Linked DNA regions of Homo sapiens: regions 2, 3, 4, 5, 6 and 7 are each linked to region 1. The links are contacts of gene promoters, found by promoter capture Hi-C in blood cells and fetal thymus (Javierre and others, 2016). All regions are on one chromosome and are shown on one strand. Each heading gives the region's core, a stretch centred on a gene start or on the middle of the fragment in contact. The rest is flanking DNA. Distances are from core to core; before and after follow the strand shown.

Region 1 (4,103 bases), core at 405-2,904:
CGCTCAGTTAACTCATAACATAGTTGACAACATACTGCAGCATTTAAATGGCATTTCAGAAACAAGTCACCTCACCATCTTTTAAAGGCATATTTGATCCATTTGCAATTCAAGAAACATATTTGGGCCATGAAGCTGCCCATGGTTATGTCAAACTGAAGGAAACTATAATGGATCATTGTTGATTTCCCAACCATGGAAATCGGGCAGTGCAACCCACCTCACTGCAAACTGACTGTAAATAACTGCTACACATTTCTCTACACAGACTCATCCACACCCACTTATCCCATGACCAGCATCTCTCAGTCCCACACCCAAGGAATGCCTAATCACCTCTCAGGCCCTCGTCCTCCCTGTCACAGAGGAGAGAGCCACAAAACCTGCTTCCAGCTAACCAGAAATTGATCCCTGAACGGGAAACACAATCTACATAACATGGGTCAAGACCAAAAGAATCTTTGGTTGAATGTACATATGTGGGCACACAAAAACACAGGCAGGCACGCACACACTCCATTACCTCTACAACAAGATACAATGATTTTTTTTTTTTTTTTAAAGTTTTGCTAGGTCTGAAGGGGAAGCAAATCCCATTCTTCCATTTTTGCCTGCAATGTTGCCCAAAGGACCTATATCCTGATGACCATTTTGATATGCAAGACAAAACAGGTGGCTCCCAGTGAATGTGACAAGTTTAAGGCCTTGTTCTGAGACATTTTCCTGTCCAGGCCTATCTAACGCCCGACGTCTTTAAGGTTCCAAGAAAGCCTGAACGCACCGCCTGGCCATGCACCTAATAAACCCTTTCAGCCAAACAGTGCGGCCAGCACAGAGGCAGCAAACACCAGTCACGAGAATGATGATGATTTATCTTGCGCGGAGAGGTAGGAGGATATAGTTTACAACCTGGTGACTGAGACGACCTGGAGCCTCAGGAATTGGCTCCTCATCGCTGCCGACAATAACCCGGGGTGGGGATTTGGGGGAGTGCAGCAGGGGAACACTGCTGGATCCAGATTCCCGGCACCGGGCAACAAAGTTCCATAAGGTCGTCAACCCCGGCGATCGGCCTATATTATTCTTCCTGCTCCAAACACCTGTCTTGCTTAGTGGCTCTCTTCTTACACGTTTGGCCAAGGCCCCTTCTGTGCCTGGACCTCCCCAGAACTGCGGGACCCTCAAAGGCCCGGTTGTCGCCCACACCCTTCCCGTCCCCGGTGAGTCTCTCTCCCTCGCCAGAGCAGGCGTGGGGAGCCAGGTTGCGTACCCGGTTCTCCAGCTCCGCAGGGAACTTGGTCTGGAACTGGCAGCGTGTGCCACTGCTGTAGTCTCGCTGAATGAACACCTTTCCGGACACCGGCGCCTGCTGCGGCCTCATGGCGAGGACAGGACACCCCGCGCTGCGGGGTCGGGGGAACACCAACCGCGAGTCAGAGCCCCGGCCTGGACCCGGGACTCTGACCCGCCAGCCCCTCGCCCCCACCCGCCGCCGAAAACAGCCCAAGGCCTCCTCTGCCCCGCTCCCCTTCACCCATGCTGTCACCGCGGGCCTTAGCTGCCGCCTGGCCCAGGCCCCGCGCCCCCCACAACCCGGTTCGGCCCGGGAAACACAAACCCGCCTCCTCTGCCCTCCAGCTGCTGTCGCACCGCCTTCGCCGTCACTTACGTCCTGCCGCAAAAAGCCTCTTCCCCGCCCCTCAGCTCGGCCTCCTACCTCAGGTCTGGGACCCACCCTCTCCTCCGGCCGTAAAGCCACCCTGCCGAAGCTGCGCGCTGTGGGGCTGGGCCGAGGAAGGGAAATGATGTGGGCGGGGCCAGGGCCGACCCCGCCTTCCGCCCGCGCGGGGATTGTTTCCGGAAGGAGAGAGGCGGGGCGAGCTGTGGGGCTGCGGCCGGGGCGAGCTGTGGGGCTGCGGCCGGCGCGAGCGCGCGGGGGTGTGAGGGGCGGAGTTTCCCGGCTGTGTCACTTCCCTAGTGATTGTGGCAGGTGGTTCCCGATCACTGATTGTGAGGGGTCATTTTCGTTCTTGATTGGACGTCGCAGCTTACGTGTGGGTTATGCCACCCAACTCATACACAAAACAAAAAACAAAACATAAAGAAAAAACAACACCCCCTCCCCAAACCCTCAAACACAAACTGCTCATTGTGTTCAGAAGTAGAAAGCAGGCTCCAAGGATGGATCCATTTGGTCCCTAGACTCTTGAGAAAGGGTCAGGAAGTGAGGACGAAGAACCTGCCTGGGCCCCAGCGTTGGGCGCCCCTGCCCCGACTCTTCTTTGGGGGCGGCGTTCCTCTCACCCCCCATTTCCACCCAGCTCCCATCCACATCCCTCAGGTGACCAAGGGGACAAGTGGTTCCGCCCTCGTTGCCCACTGGCCCTTACTTGACTCAGCATTTCTTTGCAAGGCAGCCAAAGAAACCCCACCTTACCCTTGTCTCCTGCTAATACAACCTGTTAGTACCACTGTCTTTTATATATTTAATATAGTTTAAATATCCTGCCTTTTAAATATGAAAAATTCTCTTACTGTATTTTAAAAACAGCTTTTTCGAGATATAAATGGCATACAATAAACCACACATTTAAAGCAGTGGATTTGATAACTTTGGACATATGAATACACCCATAAACCACTGTCACAATCAAGATAGTAAAGCTCCATTGCCCTGAAAAGGTTCCTCCAGCTCCTGTGTAATCTCTCCCTCCTGCCTCTCCCAGACCCCATTTCCCAGGCACTGATCCACCTTCTGTCACTCAACATTAGTTTCATTTCCTTGAATTTTATATAAATTGAATCATATAGTGTGTACCCCCTTTTTTTGCCTGGCTTCTTTCACATAGACTATTTTGAAGTCCATCTGTTGTTGTGTTATCAATAATTCATTTATTTTTGATGCTGGATAGCTATTCCATTGTATGGCCATCCCACAGTTTGTTTATCCATTCATCTGTTGATGGACATTTGGATTGCTTCCAGTTTTGGGATGTTACAAATAAAGCTGCTATGGACATTCATTTGCAAGTCTTTGCATAGGTGTGTAGACCTTAATGCTTTCATTTCTCTTGGGTACATACCTAGGAGTAGAATGGCTAGATTGTACGGTAAAAACACGTTTAACTTTTTGGCAGACTGACAAACTGTTTTCCAAAGTGGTGACACCATTTTGCATTCCCACCAGAGTTCCAGTTGCTCCACATCTTTGCCAAGACTTGGGTAGTAATATCTTCTGCAGCTATAATTTTCATTTTTCCATGACTAATTATTTTGAACATATTTTCCTGTACTTATTTGCCATCCATGTATCTTCTCTGGTGAAGTGTCTATTTAAAACTTTTGCCCATTTTTTTGTTTGTATTTTATTTTCCTGTTGTTGAGGGGTTTTTTGTTTTATTTTGTTTTGATTTACATCTTTATTGGCTGGGCTTAAGGTCAGTTTTAAATTTTTAAGGCACTTTAATTCTTGGATTTTTGTATGTTTAAAGATGTTTTCCTGAGGCCTTTATACTTGCGTGAGAACTTGGCCGGGCTGTTTTTGAGTTTTGAGTTCTTTATACATTCTGGAGAAAAATCCTTTATCAGATATGTGATTTGCATGCATTTTTCACAGTCTGTGATTTGTCTTTTTACTCTCTTAACACGTTAGGGGTTTGAGGGGATTAGGGTGTGGACCTCTTGGGGAGGGCATTTCTGCCTCCCATAGGTATAGAGTGAAACTCTTCCCTCCCCCCGTATGATTATGCAGTTGTTATTCAGTTGTTTACGTACCATTTGTTGAAAAGACTCTCATTTCTTCACTGAATTGCCTTTGTATCTCTGTTGAAAATCAGTGGGGGCCGGGCGCGGTGGCTCACGCCTGTAATCCCAGCACTTTGAGAGGCCGAGGCGGGCGGATCACGAGGTCAGGAGATCGAGATCATTCTGGCTAACACGGTGAAACCCCGTGTCTACTAAAAATACAAAAAATGAGCCGGGCGCCGTGGCGGGCGCCTATAAGTCCCAGCTACTCGAGAGGCTGAGGCAGGAGAATGGGGTGAACTCGGGAGGCGGAGCTTGCAGTGAGCGGAGATAGTGCCACTGCACTCCGGCCTGGGCTA
Region 2 (4,103 bases), core at 1,083-3,582, 1.6 Mb before region 1:
ACAGACTACCAGAAATTTTGCAGTTTGAAGTCTTATCAGTTGGGATAAAACATCCCATGCTTTCCTGGAGGATCAAAGTCACTCTGACACACAGAAGCAACCTCAGTTCCCAAACAGGGCAGACCTTCAGATAAGGAGTTTCTGGAGATAATCCTGCACATCTATGTTAACCTGGTAGTCTCCAAGGAAAGAGGACCACTTTGCAGTCCAGACTAGATCTTGGCCCCTTTACACTCAGTTCTACATGGCTTTGAGCCCATCAAAACACTACTTCATTTAAATTTGCCTAAACTTTACTCATCTCCAAAATTCTATGATTTTCTTCCTTTTTTTTTTTTTTTTTTTTGACATAGGGTCTGACTCTGTCACTCGGGCTGGAGTGCAGTGGTGCAATCATAGCTCAATGCAGCCTCAAACTCAAGCAATCCTGTCACCTCTGCCTCCTTAGTAGCTGGGACTACAGGTGCGCATCACCACATCCAGCTAATTTTTGTATTTTTTTTTGTAGAGACTGGGTCTCACGATGTTGCTCAGGCTGGCCTTGAACTCCTGGCCTCAAGCAATCCTCCTGCGTCAGCCTCCCAAATTGCTGGGATTACAGGCATGAGCCACTGCACCTGGCCTTTTAAATTTATTTTTATCCCCTCCACGGCTCTACTCATCCCCTGCATCAGTATTCCCTGGAACCTCAACACATTCCAGTACCCCACAGATGCAAGCACACAAGCTCATACTGTTCTGGCGCTCTTGAGCGTACTCCAGACCTCACACTGCTGACTCTCCCAGCAATGGCACACACTTCAGTGCCTCTATGGCTCTAAACCCACAGTAGCAGCCTCTAGAACGCCTTAAACCATCCGGCTGCCCCTTCCTAGAGTGTCCTCGTGCTCAGGGACACACGTGCACCTCACACCAACTTGACCCTTAGCGCACCGGGCCTCTGACGGTACCAAGACCCTTCCCGCACCACCACCACCCCCTACCTCACAGAGATCCACAATCCTCATCCCCGCTAGCACAGGCTCAGGTCTCCCACCGTCCTCCCTCCATCAGATCCCTCCATGAGGTCCCTCCAGCTCTGTTCCATTAGCATGCACTGGGCTCCAACTACCCAGACCTTTATTAGCGCATGCACACACCCACCACGGCACAACCCCCACAAGCGCACACCCAGCACTTGAGTCCTTCAACCACCTCCCCTCCATAAGCACCCCATTCTCTCCTACCCTGCAGGCCCCCACAGACACACACACAGCACTAACACCATACACACCCCCATCACCACACACGAGGCCTCAGAGGCCTATTAGCACACACCCTGGTGCCTCTACCACACTATCCCCCATTAGCACACACACTGGGCCTCTCTCCAGCCATAACCCCTATTAGCTTGCTTTGGAACTTCCTCAACACCCTACCCCTGTGATACACCCACGGGTCCCTCACCCGCTCTGCTGCCCACTTCCCTAAGCACACACTGGGCCTTGAGCCTCACCTGCCATAAGGCTCATCACCACATGCTCTGAGCCCTGCTCAGCCCAGGCCCCCATTGGCAAAGCTCCAGTCTCTCCCGGCTCCACCACCCATTCCCATATCCTCTGTTCCTCTGACCCCCTGCTCCCTATTTGCACTCATGGCACTTCCATCCCCAGCTCCCTGCCCCGGGCCAGGTCAGAGAGGCCCCGAAGGACTCCTGCCCTGTGCCCTCTCAGATGACTCTCTGTCCCTCTGATGAAGATATGCAAGTCCCGCCAGTATGCAGCCTCGCTTATTGCAGTGAGTCAATAAAAGTGATAGGTGTGTCCCGAGTGGCCTTAGGCTAGCTGGAAGCTCACACTCTCCTTCTCCAAACATGTACCACCTGTTCCCCCACCTTCACTCTCAGCTGATCATCTAACGAGATCATCCTATTTTACTAGAAAAACAGAAGCAATCAGAGAGCATTTCCACCAGTTCCCAAGCCCCACCCCAGGTTCCTGCACTCTCCTATTACTACAAACAGTGTGTTACCATGAAACTGGCCCCGAGCCCAGCTCAGGCAAACCCCACGCCCAGCTCTGTCCTCTCATTCTCTCCAACTCACTGCCACTGCACCCAAACTGACCTTATCACAGTCAGCACAGGTGGCCTCCACATCACTAAACACAACAGTCAAAGCACAGCCCCAGTCTTCCTTGATCTATCAATAGCATCTACCGTGATTGATAACTCCCTCCTTAAACGCCTTATATAATTGGTTTCCAGGAAACTACATTCTGGCAGCTCCTCATCTCTGAGTCCACGTAGTGGGGTCCCCCAGAGTTCAGAGCTCAGGCCTCTGCCACACTCCCTGGGAGAGCTCACCCAGACTCAGGACTTTTCATCGCTGCCTGCTGACAACTTCCAAAGGTAAAACTCCATTCCCAGCCTCTCCTCAGAACCCAAGGCTTGCTTCCTTGACATCTCCATGTGGATGTCTGGTGAACAACTCAAAAGATTCAAAAAAAACAACTCAATTTAAAAATGTGCAAAGGGTCAGGCATTGGTGGCTCACACTTGTAATCCCGGCACTTTGGGAGGCCAAGGTGGGAGGATCGCTTGAGCCTAGGAGTTCCAGACCAGCCAGGGTAACATAGTAAGACCTCCTGTCTACAAAAACTAAATTTAAAAATTAGCCAGGCATGTTGGCCTGTGCCTATAGGCCCAGCTACTCAGGAGGCTGAGGTGGGAGGATCATTTGAGTCCAGGAGACCAAGGCTGCAGTGAGCTGTGATCGTGCCACAACACTCCAGCCTGAGTGACAGTGAGACCCTGTCTCAAAAAAATAAACAAATAAAATTTTTAAAATGGGCAAAGGACTTGAACAGACATTTCTCCAAAGTAGATACACAGATGGCCAACAGGCACATACATGAAAGATGCTCAGCTTCACCAGTCATCAAGGCAAACGCAGATCAGAAGTGTGACAAGATGGCATTTTACACCCATGAGGATGGCTATAATACAAAAATCAGTAACAACATAGGGGAATGTGGAAAAACTGAAATCCTCAAACATCACTGGTGAGAAAGTAAAATGCAGCCACTGTGGAAAGCAGTCTGGCCGCTCCTCAAAAGGTTAAGCACAGTCACCACACGACCCAGCAACTCCACTGCCCAGTATGTACCTATGAAAACACACACACTCACACACACACTCATACATGAATGTTCACGGAAGCATTATCCACAACTGCCAAACAGTGGAAACAAGCCAAGTGTCCATTGGCAGATGAATGGATAGACAAAATGTGGTACATCCATAAATGGAATATTATTCAGCCATAAAAAATAAAGCACTAATTCATGCTGCAACATGGGTGAACCCTGGAAACATCATGCTCAGTGAAATAAGCCTGACAAAAAGGCCACATGCTGTAAGATTCCATTTACATGAAATGTCCAGAAACAGCAAATTCAGACACAGAACATAGATTTGTGGCTCCCAGAGGCTGGGGAGGCAGGGGGTGGAATAGCTGCTGACAGGGATGGGGTCTCTTTTTGGCTAAAATGTTCCTGAATTAGACAGTGATGATGATTGTACAACCTTGTAAATATGCTAAATATCACTGAATTGTACACTTTAAAATGTCAAATGTTATGGTTTGTGAATTATATCTTCCTTGAAGTCTCCCCCTAACATTTAAAAAGATAAAAGCATTCCCAGCTCTCAGGCTACGCAAAAACAAGCAGAAGCTGTGGTTGGCCAAGCCCTGCCTTAGGTGATGGCATTCCTCCAGGTCTGCCAAAGACCCAGGTAACCTCACCCACACCTGGGACACTAGCAGCCATCTGAACTCTGCTGCTTTCTAAGTCTGCACTGCAGCCCAGGTCTCTCCTATGCTTTGCTCACTGGCCTATCAAGGTATGGGATGTCCACTGCAGAACTCCCCAGTCCCCACAGGCCCCTCCTCCAGGGTTCCCTCTGTCATGGGCTCATGACCCAACCACCCACTCAAGTTACAGACCAGGTGTGTGTGACTTGATTCCTCCCTCCCCTAAACTCTAAACCAACCGATTACCACATGCAGTCAATGCTCCCACCAAAACCTCCCTCACAACTGCTTGCATATCTCCTTCCTTGCT
Region 3 (4,103 bases), core at 647-3,146, 1.6 Mb before region 1:
CAGAGTGAGATCCTGTCTCCAAAAAAAAAAAAAAAAAAAGGATAATTACAAGCTAAGTAGAAAAAGTTTTTAAAAATGAAGTTTAAAAGTGTTCATTTATAACTTAAACTGTACAACACACAAAATAAATCATCTTAAAAAGTGAAGGACAAAACCAGGAGAGATGTTCTTCTTTTTTTTTTTTCTTTGAGACAGGGTCTCTTGTCGCCCAGGCTGGGGCACAGTGGTGTGATCTTGGCTCACTCTGACCTCCACCTCCAGGTTCAAGCAACTCTCGTGCTTCAGCCTCCCAAGTAGCTGGGATTACAGGTGTGCACCAACATGCTCAGCTAATTTGTATATTTTTAGTAGAGACGGGGTTTTGCCATGTTGGCCAGGCTGGTCTCGACCTCCTAGCCTCAAGTAATCCGCCCATCTTGGCCTCCCAAAGTGCTGGGATTGCAGGCATGAGCTAACATGCCCAGCCCTCGTCTTCTCTTGAGATGGCTTCTCATCCCTCGAGCTCTCCAAATACTACAGGCACCTCCCCTGACACATCTCCAAGGGTAACTGGTTCCATACTTTGTGCTCTTTGAGCCTAGTTTCCTTGAAGACCTCTTATGTTCAACAAGGAGCTTAGTTACGTCAGTGGCCAGGCAAGTGAAACCTTTTCTAGTTGAGGAGTAGGTTAACCTGAAGGCGGAGATCTCTAGAAATGAAAACAGAAAGGTTGGCTGCCCACTGGCAAAATCTACCTGTAAACTACCCCGCTTTACTGTGTTCCTGAGCCAACTAGAGCCTGGGGGTGTGTGTGTTCCATTCTTTGATATAAAGACTACAGGATTCTTAAATACAATTAAAATGGCATTATTTACTGGTGGATTATTCTGAAAACAGTGTTGGTAGGTACTTGGGAGGTGCATAGAAGGGCAAACTCCCAGAGAGTTTCCATAATGCTGTTATACTTCTGCTCTTAGGTTCAGAAAAATGAAAAATTATTTACTATCCTTTTGGAATCTGATTATGGAATACACTCCATGATGCATCATATAGCCACTTCTTTTTTATATATAAAAAAAGCAAAAACAACCTCTTACCCTTTCAAATAGTTCCATGCACTTTCATTATGTGGTACTAGTTTAATCATTTCCAGAGTGTATCTGCAAGAAAAATATATATATACAATTTTAAAAGAACAGTGCAATGATGAGACACAGTTTTTTTTTTTTTCTGAAACGGAGTCTTGCTCTGTCACCCAGGCTGGAGTGCAGTGGCACAATCTCAGCTCACTGCAACCTCCGCCTCCCAGGTTCAAGTCATACTCCTGCCTCAGCCTCCCGAGTAGCTGGGACTACAGGCGCCCACCACCACACCCAGCTAATTTTTGTATTTTTAGTAGAGACAGGGTTTCACCATATTGGCCAGACTGGTCTTGAACTCCTGACCTTGTGATCCGCCTGCCTCGGCCTCCCAAAGTGCTGGGATTATAGGCATGAGCCACTGCGCCCGGCCAAGACACAGTTTTACTAAGACTGTGGCACAGCTTTGTAAACACACTTTCACTTGTGTCAGCGTTTCTTAGTGTACTGTGGCACCTCTCTCAGTCATATTTAAATCACGAGAATCCCTTAAGGCTGCAGCTGTCAATTCAGTTCTAGGGAAGGACACAAAACTAATCTAAAAGCTTCAATTCACAATAGGAAAAAAAGGAACATAAAATATTTCCTTTAAATAATATGGAAGATTTTCCTTTTGAAGGAAACATCAGCTAAAAGAAGGAAACTTTCCATTTATTGGTAAAGCAACCTTGGGGAAACAGTCTAAGCTCTACTTACGTCCCAACAAATCCCTAGTCACTGAAATAGGAGAATTTACATAATCTTTAGCTATCATTAAAAAATGGCATGGAAATTACATAGGCAAAGAATAAAAATGAAAAATCAACACAAGAATGTATTTCTTATATTCCAAAGCAAGATGACTAGTAAACTGTGATGTGATTCCCTGTCAAAATGGGTGCTCCATACCTTTATCTTCCCCTTAAACAGATTAAATATAATTCAGACTCAATTATCACAAATCCCAAGGAAGCCACAGAACTTGCTTTACCACATAATTGCTCAGATGAGTAAGTCACTGACTAAAGCTTGGTAGTCTTGGTTCTGCTGCAGTGCTGTTACTATAATTTTTTTTTTTCCACAGAGTAATAATAAACTCATTCAACATTATAAAAATACTTTTCCAACTACTTTTACATGACTTAATGTTTCCAATTATTTGCGAAACCATGTCCCCGCAGGTCTTAGCTGGTCCTTGTTTAAGATTCTTAATTTCATTTTGGCAATATCTAAATTTTTATTTACATACATGTGTACTAAAGCATTACCTATTTTTATGGTTAAAACATGAACTTTAGCTGGGCATGGTGGCTCACATCTGTAATCCCAGCACTTTCAGAGATCAAAGCGGGAAGACTGCTTGAGGCCAGGAGATCAAGACCAGTCTGGGCAACATAGTGAGACCTCATCGCTACAAAAAATTTTAACAATTAGCTGGATGCAGTGGCACATGCCTGTAGTCCCAGCTACTCGCAGGCTGAGGTGGGAGGATTCCTTCAGCTCAGGAGCTCAAGGCAGCAGTGAGCTATGATCCGTCACTGCACTCCAGCCTGGGTGACAGAGTGAAACCCTGTCTCTTAGGAAAACAAACAAACAAAAAGACCGATGAACTTTGAGGTCAGGCTGCCTCGCTTCAAATCCTGGTCCCATAAATTATGTGCTCTTGGGCAAATTACAGAATTACCTGGAACCTCAAGTTCTTCATGAAGTGTCTCACAGAGCTGTTAGAATTAGTGGCATATAGTAAATGCTTGATAAATGCTGTTATTGGTAGTACTAGAAGACTATGCACTCATAGTCTAGAAAAAGGGCCATGACACATTAACTGAAAAGGCAATGCCTGTAACATTATTATCTAGGTTGCTGTGTATAAATGTTTGCAAGTGTATTTATAAAGTTTGGAAAAATTCACCCAATTATAGCTCACTCTGGAAAATGGGATGTGGGATGAAGAACAGTAAAAGACTTTGACTTTTTACTTTATAGAATTTAGTACAATTTCCCCCCCCATAACTACATTGCATTACTTTTATAATAAAAAGAAAAAAATGACAAAAATAATTATGTACATCTATCTGTGTATGCTTAGAGTTAAAAAAAATTTAACAAACTGTAAATTCTAGATACCTACAGCTACTCTTCACATTTTAAATACTTCTTTTACCCATCTTAAAAGGAAAATAAATCCTAAGTATAGGAAGCTCTTTTAGATTCTTGGGTAATTATTTCTGTTTCTATTTGGCAACAGGAAGCCAGTGATCTGCCTCTGAAAAGGCTAAACGTTTGCATTTTGAAAACTCTTCATATTCAATTTTTAAAATGCTTTGTTACCGCTAACTACTGTCAATCTTTAGACGAATAATGTTCAATAAAACTGCCAGTGATGATGCAAATGTTTTGTATGTGCTGTCCAATATGGTAGTCACTAGCCACATGTACGTACTGAACGCCCAAAATAGGACATGTGCAATGAAATAATTGTATTTTTAATTTTTTATAATCATACCGATTGAAACTTAAATAGCCATATGTGGCTAGTAGCTACCATACTGAACAATACAGGAATACCTTGCAGATATGGAAGGTTCAGTAAAGCAATTTTATCACAATTAAGCAAGTCACACGACTTTTCTTTTTCCCAGCACATATAAATTATGTTTACACTATATTGTAGTCTAGTATGCAATAGCATCATATCTAAAAAAACAATGTACATACCTCAATTAAAAAATACTTTATTGCTAAAAAATGCTAATGATCATCTGAGCCTTCAGCAAGTCGTAATCTTTCTGCTGGTGGAGGGTCTGGCCTCCATGTTGATGGCTGCTGACTGATCAGGGTAGGGTGCTGGGTGCTGAAGGATGAGATGGCTGTGGCAATTTCTTAAAATAAGACAACAATAAAAGATTTCTCTGTAGCATGTGATGCTGTCTGATAGCATTTTACTCACAGTAAAACTTTTCAAAACTGGAGTCAATCCTCTCATATATCCTGCTGCTTTATCAA
Region 4 (4,103 bases), core at 666-3,165, 1.6 Mb before region 1:
GGCTGAGGCAGAAGGACTGCTTGAGCCCAAGAGTTTGAGACCACGCTGGGTAACATAGTGAGAGCCTGTCTCTGAAAAGAAAAAAACAGAAAGGGGTCATTTACAGCCAAGTAGAATATTAAATGTGGGTAATGTGGTGACCCACTACTTGCAATGGCATCTGAAGTGGGATGGATGTTGCAGCACTGATCCCTTGGCCTGTGGGATCTGTGCTAACTCTGGGTAATGTCAGAACTGAATTAAATTGTAGGGCAACTAGTTGGTGTCTACAGAAAATTGCTTGGTGTGAAAAATCCAAACATTTGGTGTCGAAGTATTTTGACTATAGAGAAACAGTTTTTTCCTTTTAGCCTGTAACACTGAAAGTATCAGACACGAATATGAACAATTACTCCTCTTCACAAAATTCTGAGGTATACAAAGTTTACCTAGTTCTAAACACTATCTTTAAAAAGTTGAATTTGAGCAGTGGCTCAGGCCTGTAATCTCAGCACCTTGGGAGGCCGAGGTGGGAGGATCACTTGAGGTCAGAAGCTCAAGACCAGCCTGACCAACATGGTGAAACCCCATCTCTACTAAAAATACAAAAATTAGCTGGGCATGGTGACACATGCCTGTAATCCCAGCTACTCAGAAGGCTGAGGCACGAGAATCGCTTGAACCTGGGAGACAGAGGTTGCAGTGAGCCGAGATCACGCCATTGTACTCCAGCCTGTGCAACAAGAGCGAAAGTCTGTCTCAAAAAAAAAACCAAGCTTCCAAATAATTTCAAATTTAAAACAAAATGGTAACATATTAAATATGTATACAAATGTATATATATAATACATTATCTTACACACACACACACACACACACACACACATAAAACATACACATATGCACATTGATAAAATAAACTGGGAGGCTATCAGGCTGGGATAGCTCCAAAGCCTCAGGTTCCTATGTAAACAACCAAAATCCGATTCACTGTAAAAGGTAAAATGAAACATTATTCTTTTAATTCAAACATTATAAACAGACCAGGCGCGGTAGCTCACGCTTGTAATCCCAGCACTCTGGGAGGCCGAGGTGGGCGGATCACCTGAGGTCGGGAGTTCGAGACCAGCCTAACCAACATGGAGAAACCCCGTCTCTACTAAAAATGCAAAATTAGCCAGGTGTGGTGTCGCAAGCCTGTAATCCCAGCTACTCGGGCGGCTGAGGCAGGAGAATCACTTGAACCCGGGAGGCGGAGGTCGCGGTGAGCCAAGATCATGCCATTGCACTCCAGCCTGGGCAACAAGAGCGAAACTCCATCTCAAAAAAAAAAAATTATAAACAACATATTGTCATGCTCGAAGATTCTCAAACTTTGACTTTTTTAACTCAACATTGTTTCTGAGATCTGTTCATGTTATAATAGATCTAAATCCTCTTAACGGTTATATAGTATTAACTGTATGACAATGATACATTTTATTTTATCCATTTCTCCAAAAGATAGACATATAGCTTCCAATATCTTGCTTTTTCAAAAAATGCTGCAAATTATAGTAGCTAACATATATAGTGCTTACTATGAGCCAGACAGTATTCTACTATTTTATGTAAATAATTTACTACATCTATAGTTACTACCAAGATCCTCATTTTACACAGGTGGAAACAGAGGCACATAGGAGTTAAATAACTTGTCCAAGATTACACAGTCAGTAAAATGTGAAGTTAGAATTTGAACCAGATGGTCTGGCTCCAAAGTCTGTGCTTTTAACCTCCTGTGCATATCTTCTCATGCCATGTGCCAGAATGAACCCAATATTAAATTAGAAGCAACACACTGCTAGGTTGTAAGATAAGTGCATTTTCCAGTTTTAACAGATATACCAAACTACTTTCCAAAATGGCTAAACATTCGAAAAATCCCATATGAAATGTATGGAGCTCTTCATATATCTTAATACCTAATATAATATCAAGACAGTTTTCATTTCTGCCACTTAAATCATGGGTGGAAAATGGAATTCTCATTTTAACCTGTCATTCTTAATGATAAAGGATTCTTCCTATTTTATTGGCCAATGGGATTTTCTTTTCTGTGAATTGCCAGTTCATACCCTTTGTCCATTTTTTGATTAAACTCTCTGTCTCCTTATCCTGTTGTAAAAACGTCTCAGTTTTAATATGGATCCTGTTTAAATGACATACCTTCTTCCACACTGCTGCTTGCTTTTTAACTTGCTCATGGTTTCTTCTGCTGTGTAAGTTTTAAATTGATATATTTGTCTATAAACGGTTGACAGGTCAAACTTATCTTTTCCTTTAGGGTTTCTAACCATGGTGTATGTAAGAATTCACAAAGTTAATTTTTTTTTTTTTTTTTTGAGACAGAGTTTTGCTCTTGTCGTCCAGACTACAGTGCAATGGCGTGATCGTGGCTCACTGCAACCTCCACCTCTCAGGTTCAAGCAATTCTCCTGCCTCAGCCTCCTGAGTAGCTGGGATTACAGGCGCCTGCCACCACGCCCAGCTAATTTTTGTATTTTTAGTAGAGACAGGGTTTCGCCACGTTGGCCAGGCTAGTCTCAAACTCCTAACCTTAGGTGATCTGCCCACCTCAGCCTCCCAAAGTACTGGGATTACAGGCGTGAGCCACCGCGCCTGGCCCAAAATGTTAATTTTATACCTTGCAAAAAGGTTAATTTATCCTCAATGGAAACATATGATTATATTAGTTTCCCCCAACATCTCTGTTATAAGTACTTATGAATCTGAATAAGTTATGGTTTATATTTCTCTGATCACTAGTAAGGTTAATATCTCTTCATAGATATTTCTATTTTGTGAATTGTCTCTTCATATATACTATCTCTCAAAGTATGAGAGTTTTGCATTTCCGTGCAGTTATATATTCTGACCTTCTCCTTAATCGATTCTGAGGTTTACATCTTGCCTAATACGTTCTCCATCCTAAGAATGATAGGGATACAACTCTGCTTTTATCTAAGTGCACAGCCAACTGTTCCAACCATTATTTGATTAATCCACCCTTTTCATAAAGGTATAAAATGTCCTTTTTATCACATATTAAGCTTTCATAGAGTGAGGATCTATTTCTCGAGTCTTTACAAATCTACTTCTGTGCTACTTCCACTTAATCATTAAGTTTAGTAATATATCTGCACACTTAATACGGCAAACCTATCATTATGCTTTTTTAAACATTTATTGTCATTTTATTAGCAGAAAAAAAATGCTTTTGTAAAAGAATGATCTTAGAAAAGCCTTAACTGAAAGAAATATATATACATAAAATTACAAAACTATCATTCCATTTTATTCATTTTCCCTTTCCTAGAAGAACTAACAATTAACATTTCCACGACCTTCAATTTACACTTTCACATTCATTACAAAAGAATATTTTGTCAAAGAAAAAAATCCACTCATTTTAATATCAATAAATGTATTCCAACTGAGCTGAACACTTCACTGCCAAAATATATGTTTAAATCCTGATGTTTCAGCAACCAAAGTTTATTCTAAAAACAGTAACTCATTTATATTGTGTGGTACATGCATAATCTCCCTGGCGGTGGAGTCTCCAGCAAAGAAAAGAAAACCACAATCACATAGTAGCTATTATCTACTATACTGTAACGTTTATTATTTAGAATATGTCCAGTCTTTGGGCAAAATAAAACTTTTAATCATAAAGCTAAATCACACACACACATAAAAAAAACACAAAATTAACTCATCTTAAGTCATTCAGATTTTTATTAGACAGAAATTTGTCATCTATCTTGCTACATAGTTGTGAATTCCAATTCTGCTACTATATTTAACTTACAGACCTTTTCCTAATATAAACAAACTTACATTTGTCACTATAAATGATCTGGACCACGGGATTGGGGCCATCATTCTGCGGCACCGGATCTATATCAGCCCATTCTGCTCTGTCCCTGAAAACAGACATTCCCCAACCAGTGGTTACATTCAAATACAGAAGAAAAGGGACTCTAGTGTTTTTAAAATGACAATAATTACAGTTACATTGATATTAATAACTTACAGGGCTCATAATGTAATCATGGTTGGATTCTTCATGACCAAGTTTT
Region 5 (4,103 bases), core at 847-3,346, 1.5 Mb after region 1:
TGGATTTTTTTTCTGGGAACATACATTTTCCATTTACTTGGATAAATGCTTAGGAATGCCATTGCTGAGTTGCATGGTAAATCTATGTTTCATTTTATAAGAATCTGCCAAGCTAGTTTTCAAACTGGCTGTACCATTTTGCATTTCAACCAGCAATGAATGAAAGTCTCTATTGCTATACGTCCTCTTCAGTATTTTGATATGGCCAGATTTTTAAAAAATTAGCCATACAAATAGGTATGAAATTGTCTTTTAGGCCAGCACGGTGGCTCACGCCTGTAATCCCAGCACTTTGGGAGGCCAAGGCGGGTGGATCACCTGAGGTCAGGAGTTTGAGACCAGCCTGGCCAACATGGTGAAACCCCGTCTCTAATAAAAATACAAAAATTAGCTGGGTGTGGTGGCGGGTGCCTGTAATCCCAGCTACTCGGGAAGCTGAGGCAGGACAATTGCTTGAACCCAGAGGCAGAGGTTGCAGTGAGTCGATATAGCACCACTGCACTCCAGCCTGGGCAACAAGAGTGAAACTCTGTCTCAAAAAAAAGAAAAGAAACTGTCTTTTAATATTTAGCATTACAGGTAAACAGTCGTATGTATTTACTCTGTAAATAAACTATTTTTCATTTTTGTTTTCTATGAATATGCAGATTTCTTTACCCTAGAAAATTCACAATTTTATCTGAGTATTTACATGTGCCCCCCAACCCTCACCCCAACACTGTCTTTCTGATATAAAAAACTCAAATATTTCTTAAGGTCTAAAAATTTTGTGCTTATATGTTGGAAGTTTTACTTTTCCTCCACCCATCTGCTTATGGGATTCCATTAAAAGGAATTTGGATCACCTGTATTTCTCTTTTTTATATATTTGTATTTTTCTGATGGTTTGCACTCTTTGATTTTTCTTTATGCTTTATGAAATTTATCAAGGAAGTCCCTAAGTCACTATATATATTTTTTGCAATCAATGTTTTACTGAATTTGTTAGGTTTATATTGAGGAGTTCTGGGATGTGTGTGGTTTTTTATTTCTAATAGTTCTTTTTATATATCAGCTTTCACTTAATTTAGGAAGGCAATATACTGGATACACTAAATAAAATATTTAAAGCACTAATATCATCTTATTTATTGGAGGCCATTGGTCCTGAATGCCAAGTGGGCTACCCTCTTCTTTTTGAGTTGCCCATTTTTTCCATATTATTTGGTAATTTTGTCTATTCAAATTCATGAACGAAGGTTAGTTTTATTAAGATTAGTGTCTAATATGGATTTTCTTATTGTATTTCCAGAGTTCTGCTGGATTTCTTCTTGCATAGCTCCCTCTGATCATGTCTTCCTAGGAAATGTGAGTGAATGGGTCTAAGGCAATTAATATATTTTGTTTCAAGATACAGATAGGTATGTTGAGACATTCTAAGACAAGGTGGTTGGCTTAGGTGCACTGTAAGATCAAAGCTGTAAATTCACTTATTGTGTTGTCTGTAGCAAGTAAAGGATCCAGAGAACACATGTTTTTGTTATAGCTCCATCTGTGGTTCTAGAAACTATTACATTTGCCTCTCACAGGAAATTGCTAACTGATTCAGTCTCTCGAAACTATTGTGTTTGCTTCTCACAAACAATTCCTGTTTCAATTTCAGCCTTTGGTGGTAAAGTCTAAAAACTGGCCTTCATTTGTTAGGTATTTTCCAGGCAATTAAGAGTAGGGATAGAGGCCGTGCATGGTGGCTCAGGCCTGTAATCCCAGGGCTTTGGGAGGCTGAGGCTGGTGGATCACAAGGTTAGGAGTTCGAGACCAGCCTGGCCAATATGGTGAAACCCCGTCTCTACTACAAATACAAAAATTACATGGGCATGGTGGCGGGTGCCTGTAGTCCCAGCTACTCAGGAGGCTGAGGCAGGAGAATTGCTTGAACCTGGGAGCTGGAGGTTGCAGTGAGCCAAGATTGCACCACTGCATTCCAGCCTGGGAGACAGAGTGAGACTCTGTCTCAAAAAAAAAAAAAAAAAAAAGAAGCGATAGAGACCAAGAGTGTTGTGTTAGTTTTATGCGCTGCCATAACTAATGACCACAAACATCATGACTTAAAATAGCAGAAATGTACTCTGCCACAGTTATGGAAGATAGAAGTCATAGAAGTCCCAAATTAAGGTATCAATAGGGTTGGTTTCTTCTGGAGCCTCTGAGGGAGAATTTGTTCCATTCTGTTCCATGCCTGTCTCCTAACTCCTGGTGACTGCCAGCAATCCTTGGCACATCTTGGCTTGTCAATGCATCATTCCAATTCTACCTCCATCTTCACGTGATGTTTTCCCTTGAGTCTATGTTCCTGTGTTTAATTTTTCCTCTTCTTATAAGGACACTCATCATATACAATTTAATCCAGTATCACCTCAGCTTAACTCGAATACATCTGTACACACCCTATTTCCAAATAAGACCACTTTCACAGATTATGCATGAACATGACTTCTAGGAAGACACTATTAAACCCAGTAAAAATTTGTATTTTAATATATATATATTTGTTTGTTTGTTTTGTTTTGTTTTTTGAGACAGAGTCTCACTCTGTGGCCCAGGCTAGAGTTCAGTGGTGTGATCTCAGCTAACTGCAACCTCTGTCTCCTGGGTTCAAGTGATTCTTCTGCCCCAGCCTCCCAAATAGCTGGGACTACAGGCATGTGCCACCATACCCTGCTAATTTTTTCTATTTTTAGTAGAGACATGGTTTCACCATGTTTCTCAGGCTGGTCTCGAACTCCTGAGCTCAGGCAATCCGCCAGCCTTGGCCTCCCAAAGTGCTAGGATTACAGGCGTGAGCCACCACACCCAGCCTAAACCCAGTACAAATGTTAGGTGATAGATTTCACACTCAATTTTAGCCAAAAGGCCAAGAAGGAATAGGGACTGGTTTCAATGCTGTGCTAAGAGGAGCCCCAATTTAACAAGTCCTTCTCTTCCTTTATGGCAGTTAAATCAAATAAAGCCTGGTAAATGCCTACGGCAGACGACCTCATAATTCACAAACTGAATTCTAACCTGCCCTCTTGCCAACTGTTCCAGGCTTCCCTTGCTTCTCTTCTCTGCTATTCTGAGATGGGAAAAGGGGACTCATGGGGATCTCCCTCTGCTTTGGTTAAATCCTTGACATGGGTCCTGTAAACTTATTTCTGGATTTTATACATGATTTGCTTAATACGTTCAAAAAAATCCTTTAAATTTTTATTCCATCATTGGAACTTTTCTCTATTTTTCTGTGTTTACAGATAGTTTTTTTCTTATTTTTGGATTTCTTTGGTCATGTCAACACAACATTTTATCTATCAGGCAAAGAAATTACTCTGTTTAGTTTGCTATCTTCACAGACATTGAAGCCAGTCCCTTACTCATCTTTTACAAGGTTCTAGTGCTTTGCACAAAGCAAACATTCAATGAGTATTTTAAAAAGAATTTGTAATTCTAGACATTAAATATTATCCATCAGCAAAGGGAAATTTTGGAGAGCGGAAAACTTTTCATGGACTTCCGCAATTATGTGGTACTCCAAACTGATAGATTAGGACAGATGGAGAAGAGACTACAGAGAAGTAATGAATGTATACTGAATGCTATTATAGGACAAGAACTACAAAAGGGCCACTTTGAAAGTGATTTACTTCCCATAACAATACTGTGAGACCAGAGTTTCTCTCATTTTATAAATAAGGAAATGGGATTACAGAGTTGAGTAACTTTTTCAGGGTTACATAGCTATTAGGTTGGTACAAAAGTGTTTGTGGTTTTTGTCATTAAAAGTAATGGCAAAAACTGCAATTACCTTTGTATCAGCCTAATCAACACTTGTGTGGAATTTACAGGCTTATTGGATGTTTTGTAGAACCCATGGCCAATTTTATAATTCAGAAATTCCCTCCATTTAACTATTCTATAACACCTAGGACAAAATCAAGTTAGACCCCCTCAGTAACAACAGAGCCTTGAGTACGTACATGGAATGAGGAACCTGAGAATTTCCAAGCTGACCTTCTTAGGCGATACCTTGTCCATTAGTTAGTTTATCATTCCCACCCAGATTCTTCTTTAAACAAACATTTGGTGAG
Region 6 (4,103 bases), core at 1,035-3,534, 1.5 Mb after region 1:
TTCAGCAACATTCAGGGAGGAAAGAGAACAGATAAGTTCAATTTCATGTTCACCTGACAGGCAGCCTCCCAATGTCTAGCATGGCCCTAATGGTCCTGGACCATCTCCGCAGTGGAATAACTGGCTGAATGAGAAGTTCCTAGTAAGAGATGTAGCTGATTCTCCACAGGGCTAGAGAGACCCAGGCAACAGCCAAGTCCATGCTCTTTTTTTTGCAGGTATGAAACCATGGCCCAGAGAAGCAAAGCAGCTTGTCCAAGGTCATATAGCCAGCTAATCGCAGGACCAGGCTGGGAAGAGTTTCACAACTCAGGCCAGTGCTGCCTCTAATCTGTTTATGTGTGTATTAGTTCATTCTTACACTGCTATAAAGAAATACCTGAGACTGGGTAATTTATAAAGAAACGAGGTGTAATTGACTCAGAGATCCTTAGGCTTACCAGGAAGCATGGCTAGGAGGCCTCATGAAACTTTTCAATCATGGTGGAAGGGTAAGCAAGCATCTTACATGGCGGCAGGAGGTGGGGGAAGTGCCACACTTTTAAACCATCAGATCTTGTGAGAACTGGCCAGGCACAGTGGCTCACGCCTGTAATTCCAGCACTTTGGGAGAGCGAGGTAGGCAGATTACCTGAGGTCAGGAGTTCGAGATCAGCCTGGCCAACATGGTGAAACTCCGTCTCTACTAAAAATACAAAAATTAGCTGGGCATGGCGGGGCATGCCTGTAATCCCAGCTACGCAAGAGACTGAGGCAAGAGGTTGCAGAGAGCCGAGATGACACCACTGCACTCCAGCCTGGGAGATAGAGTGAGACTCTGTTGCAATAATAATAATAATAATAATAATAATGAGATATTGTGAGAACTCACTATCATGAGAATAGCATTGGGGAAATCCAACCCCATGATCCTGTCACCTCCCACTGGATCCCTCTCCTGACATGTGGGGGTTACAATTTGACATGAGATATGGGTGGGAACACAGGGCCAAATTCCGTCTATCTATCTATCTATCTATCTATCTATCTATCTATCTATCTATCTCAATGCTGTACAATCGAATGGGATCTGGAAGGCTGTTACAGAGGAATCATTTCTAAATGATCTGCTGTCATTTAAATGGAGTAAAACATCTACAAAACCTAAAACCTTAACTCTAAGGATCATATTTGCCCTTCACATTTTAAGCATGAGACAAAGATGAAAAACAAACCAATGTCAAACCAAACCAAACCAAGACAAAGTCAAGACTTACATTGTTCCAGCAGCAACATTAGCTTGGGAAATGATGTCTTCACCTTCTGTGCCCCCATCTGCCCAGTTTTTCTACTGGACACTCTTATTTGATGAGTTTGGCGATAGAAGCTGAGGTTTGGTGATGGGAGAGGCAACACTGGATCAGAGGCTATTTTTGTTTTCCAGGAGAAGCGGAGCCTAAGGATGTGTGGACCAGACCTGCCCCATGAGCTCCAGTCTATGTAATAACAAGGTCTTTTGAAGGGATTTTTCTGTAGACAATCTGCAATCTGGCCTCCCATAGAAGATATAGTGAGATGAGAAATATTTTTTTCACACTATTAAACTTCAACTGGGTGCAGTGGCTCACGCCTGCAATCCCAGCACTTTGGGAGGCCAAGGCGGGTGGATCACCTGAGGTCAGGAGTTCAAGACCTGCCTGGCCAATATAGTGAAACGCTGTCTCAACTAAAAATACAAAAATTAGCCAGGTGTGGTGGTGGGTGCCTGTAATCTCAGGTACTCGGGAGGCTGAGGCAGGAGAATCCCTTGAACCCAGAGGCAGAGGTTGCAGTGAGCCGAGATCACACCACTGCACTCCAACCTGGGCAACAGACTAAGACTCAGTCTCAAAAAAAAAATTAAACTTCAAGGAGTTACTGAAATTTGATAAAGTTTCATTTTGTTTTGTTTGCATTGCACATTACTTGTTTTATTATGTACAGACTGGAAAATACAGTAAAAAAAAATCCCTTATCTATACAAGGAAGAGGCAATCACTGTTAAATTTTAGACTGTGAATTTTAGGCACATTTCCTTCTAGTATATTTTTTATGCATTTTATATGGTTGATATTATATTATACATATAATTTAGCATGCTTTGTTCTTTGTTTTATTGTAAGATTTTAAATTTGGCCTGGATTCTAAAGTGCGTAAATGATTTCTGAGAACTTACCCAATTTCCAGGAATCTAGCCCAATTTCAGTTATTGATGACCACCAAGAGAGAAAAAAAATAAAAGAACAATTCAGTTTGTAAACCAGATATATTAATAACTTCTAGGGTCACATGTCCACAGGCATGCACACTTGTGTGCAAGGCACTGCAGGCACACACACATCCACACTTACTTTGAATTCTGCAAGTTGTGGCTGGACTATGGGGTGCTATGTGATAAAGGGTGAGCGACATTTCCACTCACATTCCAGCCCCAGAATATTTGGCCTGTGGCCATCTTAATATATTATTAGGCTGGGCACAGTGGCTCATGCCTGTAATCCTAGCACTTTGGAAGGCTGAGGCAGGTGGATTATGAGGTCGAGGATTCGATACCAGACTGGCCAACGTGGTAAAACCCCATCTCTCTAAAAATACAAAAATTAGTCGGGTGTGGTGGTAGGTGCCTGCAATCCCAGCTACTCAGGAGGCTGAGGCAGGAGAATTGCTCAAACCCAGGAGGCAGAGGTTGCAGTGAGCCGAGATCATGCCACTGCACTCCAGCCTGGGAGACAGAGGGAGACTCCGTCTCTGAAAATAAATAAATAAATAAATAAGTTATTTCACTCATCTTACATTTTTGTATTTACCACAACCCCACATTTTATTCTAGCTAGTTGATTCCTACTCAACTTTTAGGATTTGCCTTACATCAAGTTCTGCCTCATCACCAAGATTTTTACTGACTTGTAAAGCCTGCATTGATGTCATTTCTCTGAAATTCTAAAGGACATATTGTTTGAGTCACTCTTTGACATTTGTCATGTAGTGTCTTGTTATTTAACCACATGGGGAGTACTTTGCTTCTATTTCTTTCATTTCTTCATAGCACTTAGCTCTGTGTTAGGCATATTAAAAGGCTTCAAAAGGTAATTACCAAGCAGAATAATTGGTGAGACCCAGGACTGTGTCCGCATCTCTGGAATTAAACTAGCCCTTCACTCTTACTCCCTAGGAAGCTATTAATAGCTTTTTTGTTATTGTTTTGTTTTGTTTTGTTTGTTTTTGAGATAGGATCTCACTCTGTCACCCAGGCTGGAGTGCAGTGGTGCAGTCTCAGCTTACTGCAACCTCTGCCTCCCAGGTTCAAGTGATTCTCCTGCCTCAGCCTCCTGAGTAGCTGGGATTGCAGGCACCCACTGCCACACCTGGCTAATTTTTGTATTTTTAGTAGAGAGGGGGTTTGGCCATGTTGGCCACGCTGGTCTCAAACTCCTGATCTCAGGTGACCTGCCCACCTGGGCCTCCCAATGTGCTGGGATTATAGGCATGAGCCGCTGCACCTGCCTGTTGTTGCATTTTTGACTACCATTCTAGTACAGTCATTTTTCCCTTCAACCTTCTCTTATTCTGTCTTTCTCTTTGAGTAATAAATCCAGCTTATTCAATATTCAGTACCTTGAACAGAATAAATTACGCACATATATTATTTTTTTCATCCAAATTCTTACCCAGATTCAGCAGCTTTCAGTAGTCACCCATTTTATTATTAAAGCATAATTAATCAAGGATCACAATTCATAATTGCAGAAAACATAAAACTCCAGGGCTCAGAGCTCCCGAGAGAGATGAGATGGCCGAATCTCACTTCTTCCAATGGGGCACATAATTTTTTTTTCTTTTGAGACAGAGTTTGTCACCTAGGCTGGAGTGCAATGGCATGATTTCGCTCACTGCAACCTCTACTTCCTTCGTTCAAGCAATTCTCCTGCCTCAGCCTCCCGAGCAGCTGGCATTACAGGTATGTGCCACCATGCCCGGCTAATTTTTTTGTATTTTTAGTAGAGACGGGGTTTCACCATGTTGGCCAGGCTGGTCTTCAACTCCTGACCTCAGATGATCCACCTGCCTCAGCCTCCCAAAGTGCC
Region 7 (4,103 bases), core at 502-3,001, 1.4 Mb before region 1:
CTCGGAGGCCAAATATCTTTACACAGATGTAGAAGTCACACTTAGAATGGTTAGGTTAGATATTCACTTCATTTTGATTTCAAATATATTCTGAAACTTTGTACTAATCAACATGATGTAGCCAAGAAATGTACTTTCCCTAATAGTATAAATTCTCTCTCAAAGTAAGAAAATGTAGCTGAGCCAGCTACCCAGTAGTGTACTCAGGATTTAGACGGAAATCAATCCCTGAGAACAGACAGACACAGGCCATCCTCTCATAGAACTTACAACTAGGAAAAATGAAACAGTATAATAGAAGTGTCAACAGCAGGCATAAAGATGAGAAGTGAGAGTGGGATGCAATTTAGGTATGAAGAGCAGCTTGGTACAGATCGAGTAGGGGTAAGAATTGGAGGAAGAAACAGAACAGGGGAGAATTAAAACGGTGAAAGACAGGGCAAAAAACTGAAGAATTAACATGTAAAACCTTAGAAGCCACATTAGGACCTTATTCTATGAATAAAGTAAGCAAAGGATTTGAACCAGGGGAGTGAGCCATGAGGTTTGCATTGTATTAATATAAGATCTGGCCGGGGGCGGTGGCTCATGCCTGTAATCCCAGCACTTTGGGAGGCGGAGTCGGATGGATCACGAGGTCTGGAGATCAGAACCATCCTGACTAACACAGTGAAATCCTGTCTCTTCACTAAAAATACAAAAAATTAACCAGGCCTGATGGCACACACCTGTAGTCCAAGCTACACTGGAGGCTGATGCAGGAGAATCGCTTGAACCCGGGAGGCGGAGGTTGCAGTGAGCCAAGATCATGCCACTGCACTCCAGCCTGGGCGACAGAGCGAGACTCCGTCTCAAAAAAAAAAAAAAAAAAAAAGATCATACCGGCTGCAGTATGAAGGAAGGAGTGGAGGGAAAGAGACAGGAAGACCCATTTGAGTAGGTTTATATACTAACACGGATGAAGCTAAACTCAGTACAGACAATGAGAATACTGGGAATAACACTCAGGTGACCATATGTCTTCACACAAATTTTTATTTATTGGGTTAGAAAAGAAGTAAAACTGCTAGGTCAAAAAGTGTATGAACATTTTACGGTTTTTGATAAAACTGTCAAACTGCCCTAAATATATACTGTAGCAATTTATTCTCTTACTAACGGTGGGTGAGTGGCTACTTCTCCGCACCGTATCATTTATCAAATCTTTTTGTTTTGTTTTGTTTTTCAGACGGAGTCTCACTCTGTCGCCCAGGCTGGAGTGCAGTGGCGCGATATCGGCTCACTGCAAGCTCCGCCTCCCGGGTTCACGCCATTCTCCTGCCTCAGCCCCCCGAGTAGCTGGGAATACAGGCGCCCGCTACCATGCCCGGCTAACTTTTTTGTATTTTAAGTAGAGACAGGGTTTCACCGTGTTGGCCAGGATGTCCTCATCTCTGACCTCGTCATCCGCCCGCCTTAGCCTCCCAAAGTGCTGGGATTACAGGCGTTTGAGCCACCACGCCCGACCTCATTTATCAAATCTTTAAAAGACAACTATTGGCCGGGCACGGTGGCTCATGTCTGTAATCCCAGCACTTTGGGAGGCCGAAGAGAGTGGATCACGAGGTCAGGAGATGAGACCATCCTGGCCAACACGGTGAAACCCCGTCTCTACTAAAAATACAAAAAATTAGTCGGGCGCTGTGGCGGGCGCCTGTAGTCCCAGCTACTCGGGAGGCTGAAGCAGGAGAATGGTGGGAACTCGGGAGGTGGAGCTTGCAGTGAGCCGAGATCGCGCCACTGCACTCCAACCTGGGCCACAGAGCGAGACTCCGTCTCAAAAAAAAAAAAAAAAAAAAAAAAGACAACTATTAACAGTACAGTCAGTAGCTTCTTTGTATATAATACAGGAGAGTTTTGCAGGTAGAGACGGTTATGGTGGTAGAGGCCCAGGGAATTATCTTAAAGATCCTCATAGCAAGTTTTTACTTAAGTGTCTATTTGGGAAAGCTGATAAGAGGATCCTTCCAAGCTGCCCTGACACAAACCAAACACCTGGTAGAGGTGCAATAAATGATTAGTAAATGAATACATGAAACAAATAAACACCATCTGCGGGAACTGATTTTGAATTTTACTCCATACTATCTCCAGCTGCCTGCTCATTAGTAAAAGAAATAAGCACTTAAAAGAAATAAGCACTTGCTTCCATTCTACAGTTGCCAAGTCAATGGCCCATTTTCAAAAAAGAAAACCCAATCTTTCTTGTAGGTTTGTTTAGAAGGAAAAATAGAGGCAGCAGTGAGGACTATGTCTCATTCTTCTCTTTATCACTGACCTCAGCACAATGCCTGATACGAACAAGCCCTCAGTGGACGCCACTTTGAATGAAAGGAGCTAATTCTAATCCCTAGTTTTGCCCTGTAAATTTAGACAGGATGTTTCATCTCTCTCAATATCAGTTTTTCCATATAAAGAAAGATTGGGGAAAAATAGCCTATAGAAGGGTGTGTTGCTTCAGAATGAATGAGAAAATGAATGCCCATGAGGTATTTTGCAAAGTCTAAAGCAATGGTCCCAAACCTGGTGTGTAGGGGAATCATCTGGGGGGGTTTGAAAATACACATTTTGGCAGGGCGTGGTGGCTTATACCTGTTACCTCAGCACTATGGGAGGTCAAAGCTGGAGGATCACTTGAGCCCAGGAATTCGAGACCATGCTGAAAAACATGGCAAAATTCTGTCTCTACAAAAAATACAAAAATTAGCTGGGTATGGTGGGTCACGCCTGTAGTCCCAGCTATTCAGGAGGCGGAGGTGGGAGGATCACTTGAGCCTGGGGGGTCGGGACTGCAGTGAGCTGTGACTGCTCCACGGCACTCCAGCCTGGGCAACAGAGTGAGACCCTGTCTTAAAAAAAAAAAAAGAGAGAGAGAGAGAGAATACACATTTCTTGGCTCCCCCTACTGAATCAGAATCTGTGTGTAGGAAGCTGGGGATCTATTTTTAACAAGTTCATCAAATAATTCTTACACAGCTGGGCACTGGTTTGGCATTTGGAATCCTATGATCCAAAGCACTATGAAAGGGAAGGGATGCAAGATTGGAAAACAGCCTCTGGCCAATCAGAAGAAGCAACTCAACAAAGCAGGTAATTCAAAAAAGCAAGTAACTTAGTTGTTAAGACTTGATCTGGGCCTGGCACGGTGGCTCACGCCTGTAATCCCAGAACATTTGGAAGCCGAGGCGGGTGGATCTTGAGGTCAGGAGTTCAAGACCAGCCTGACCAACATAGTGAAACCCCGTCTCTACTAAAAAATACAAAAATTAGCCGGGCGTGGTGGTGCGTGCCTGTAATCCCAGCTACTAGGGAGGCTGAGGCAGAATTGCTTGAACCCAGGAGGTGGAGGTTGCAGTGAGCCGAGATTGTGCCACTGCACTCCAGCCTGGGCAACAGAGCAAGACTCCACCTCCAAAAAAAGACTTGATTTGTTTTTTTCTCTTGGGATTTAGGGAAGCTAAATTTTCATTTTTGTTTTTAAAACATGGCTTTATTCAATTATTTTCTCTGTATTAGCCCTTGAGGTACATAGTTGCTCATAAGGGTCAGAGATGTCCACCTCTGCTGCAAGACCAAAGTGAAACAGATCCTAAAGAAAATTTATCCCCTAGTTTATTTTTGGGGTGATGAAAATGTTCTTGGAACTAGATAGTCATGATGACTGCACAATCTTGTGATCATACTAAAAACCAAAAAAATTATACACTTTAAAAGGATGAATTTTATGGGTATGTAAACCGTACCTTAATTTTTAAAAATCTGTCACATACCAGTTCTCTGAGCTAACATCTATTTCAGGATAGCAGTACAATAAAACTGAAAGACAATTGCACTTAACTGCATTAAGGCATGAAACTCTACCTGAAGGGTTATAATCTTTCTTTTAATTCCAAGAAGCTCTATTACCACCACCCAACCTCTACCTCCCCCTCCCCAACAAAAGCATGAGAAGAGTAAAGCATGAGATCACCTGGAATTACTATCTCTAGAGCAATGGATAATTTTGCTCCCGAGGAGACATTTTTGGCTGTGAGTTGGGTGCTATTGTCATCTAGCTGGTTGAG

The links. Contacts are between HindIII fragments. The CHiCAGO score rates a contact against its expected background, and 5 or more counts as called.
Region 2: a contact is called between a fragment that was not itself captured here and the fragment with the promoter of GOLGA7 in region 1, in 1 of 17 cell types (activated CD4 T cells). The highest score is 5.4, in activated CD4 T cells.
Region 3: a fragment that was not itself captured here is called in contact with the fragment with the promoter of GOLGA7 in region 1 in 1 of 17 cell types (naive CD8 T cells); the score reaches 5.7 in naive CD8 T cells.
Region 4: a fragment that was not itself captured here is called in contact with the fragment with the promoter of GOLGA7 in region 1 in 1 of 17 cell types (total B cells); the score reaches 6.2 in total B cells.
Region 5: a fragment that was not itself captured here is called in contact with the fragment with the promoter of GOLGA7 in region 1 in 1 of 17 cell types (M2 macrophages); the score reaches 5.9 in M2 macrophages.
Region 6: a fragment that was not itself captured here is called in contact with the fragment with the promoter of GOLGA7 in region 1 in 1 of 17 cell types (neutrophils); the score reaches 6.2 in neutrophils.
Region 7: a contact is called between a fragment that was not itself captured here and the fragment with the promoter of GOLGA7 in region 1, in 1 of 17 cell types (fetal thymus). The highest score is 5.1, in fetal thymus.

The regions. Positions count from the first base shown.
Region 1 is chr8:41,488,133-41,492,235 of GRCh38, reverse strand. It overlaps GOLGA7 (golgin A7), which reads right to left and starts at 1,654. Exons shown (of 5, transcript NM_001002296.2): 1 at 1,271-1,654. The coding sequence starts at 1,381. RefSeq lists enhancers at 1,024-1,133, 1,184-1,293, 1,584-1,713 and a silencer at 1,764-2,023. The HindIII fragment of the contact is 7,658 bases long and covers 1-4,103 here.
Region 2 is chr8:43,097,661-43,101,763 of GRCh38, reverse strand. The region is part of intron 2 of POMK (protein O-mannose kinase); the gene reads right to left. Among named protein-coding and RNA genes, the nearest start is that of POMK, 6.2 kb to the right of the region's middle. The HindIII fragment of the contact is 5,046 bases long and covers 1-4,103 here.
Region 3 is chr8:43,080,154-43,084,256 of GRCh38, reverse strand. It overlaps FNTA (farnesyltransferase, CAAX box, subunit alpha), which reads right to left. Exons shown (of 9, transcript NM_002027.3): 7 at 1,077-1,139. Among named protein-coding and RNA genes, the nearest start is that of POMK, 11 kb to the left of the region's middle. The HindIII fragment of the contact is 462 bases long and covers 1,666-2,127 here.
Region 4 is chr8:43,058,936-43,063,038 of GRCh38, reverse strand. It overlaps FNTA (farnesyltransferase, CAAX box, subunit alpha), which reads right to left. Exons shown (of 9, transcript NM_002027.3): 2 at 3,862-3,947. Among named protein-coding and RNA genes, the nearest start is that of FNTA, 4.7 kb to the right of the region's middle. The HindIII fragment of the contact is 2,316 bases long and covers 758-3,073 here.
Region 5 is chr8:39,963,939-39,968,041 of GRCh38, reverse strand. The region is part of intron 3 of IDO2 (indoleamine 2,3-dioxygenase 2); the gene reads right to left. Among named protein-coding and RNA genes, the nearest start is that of IDO2, 31 kb to the right of the region's middle. The HindIII fragment of the contact is 7,937 bases long and covers 1-4,103 here.
Region 6 is chr8:39,983,614-39,987,716 of GRCh38, reverse strand. It overlaps IDO2 (indoleamine 2,3-dioxygenase 2), which reads right to left. Exons shown (of 11, transcript NM_194294.5): 6 at 2,195-2,209. Among named protein-coding and RNA genes, the nearest start is that of IDO2, 51 kb to the right of the region's middle. The HindIII fragment of the contact is 5,649 bases long and covers 1-4,103 here.
Region 7 is chr8:42,901,078-42,905,180 of GRCh38, reverse strand. All of the region lies in intron 1 of HOOK3 (hook microtubule tethering protein 3), which reads right to left. Among named protein-coding and RNA genes, the nearest start is that of HOOK3, 6.2 kb to the right of the region's middle. The HindIII fragment of the contact is 6,491 bases long and covers 1-4,103 here.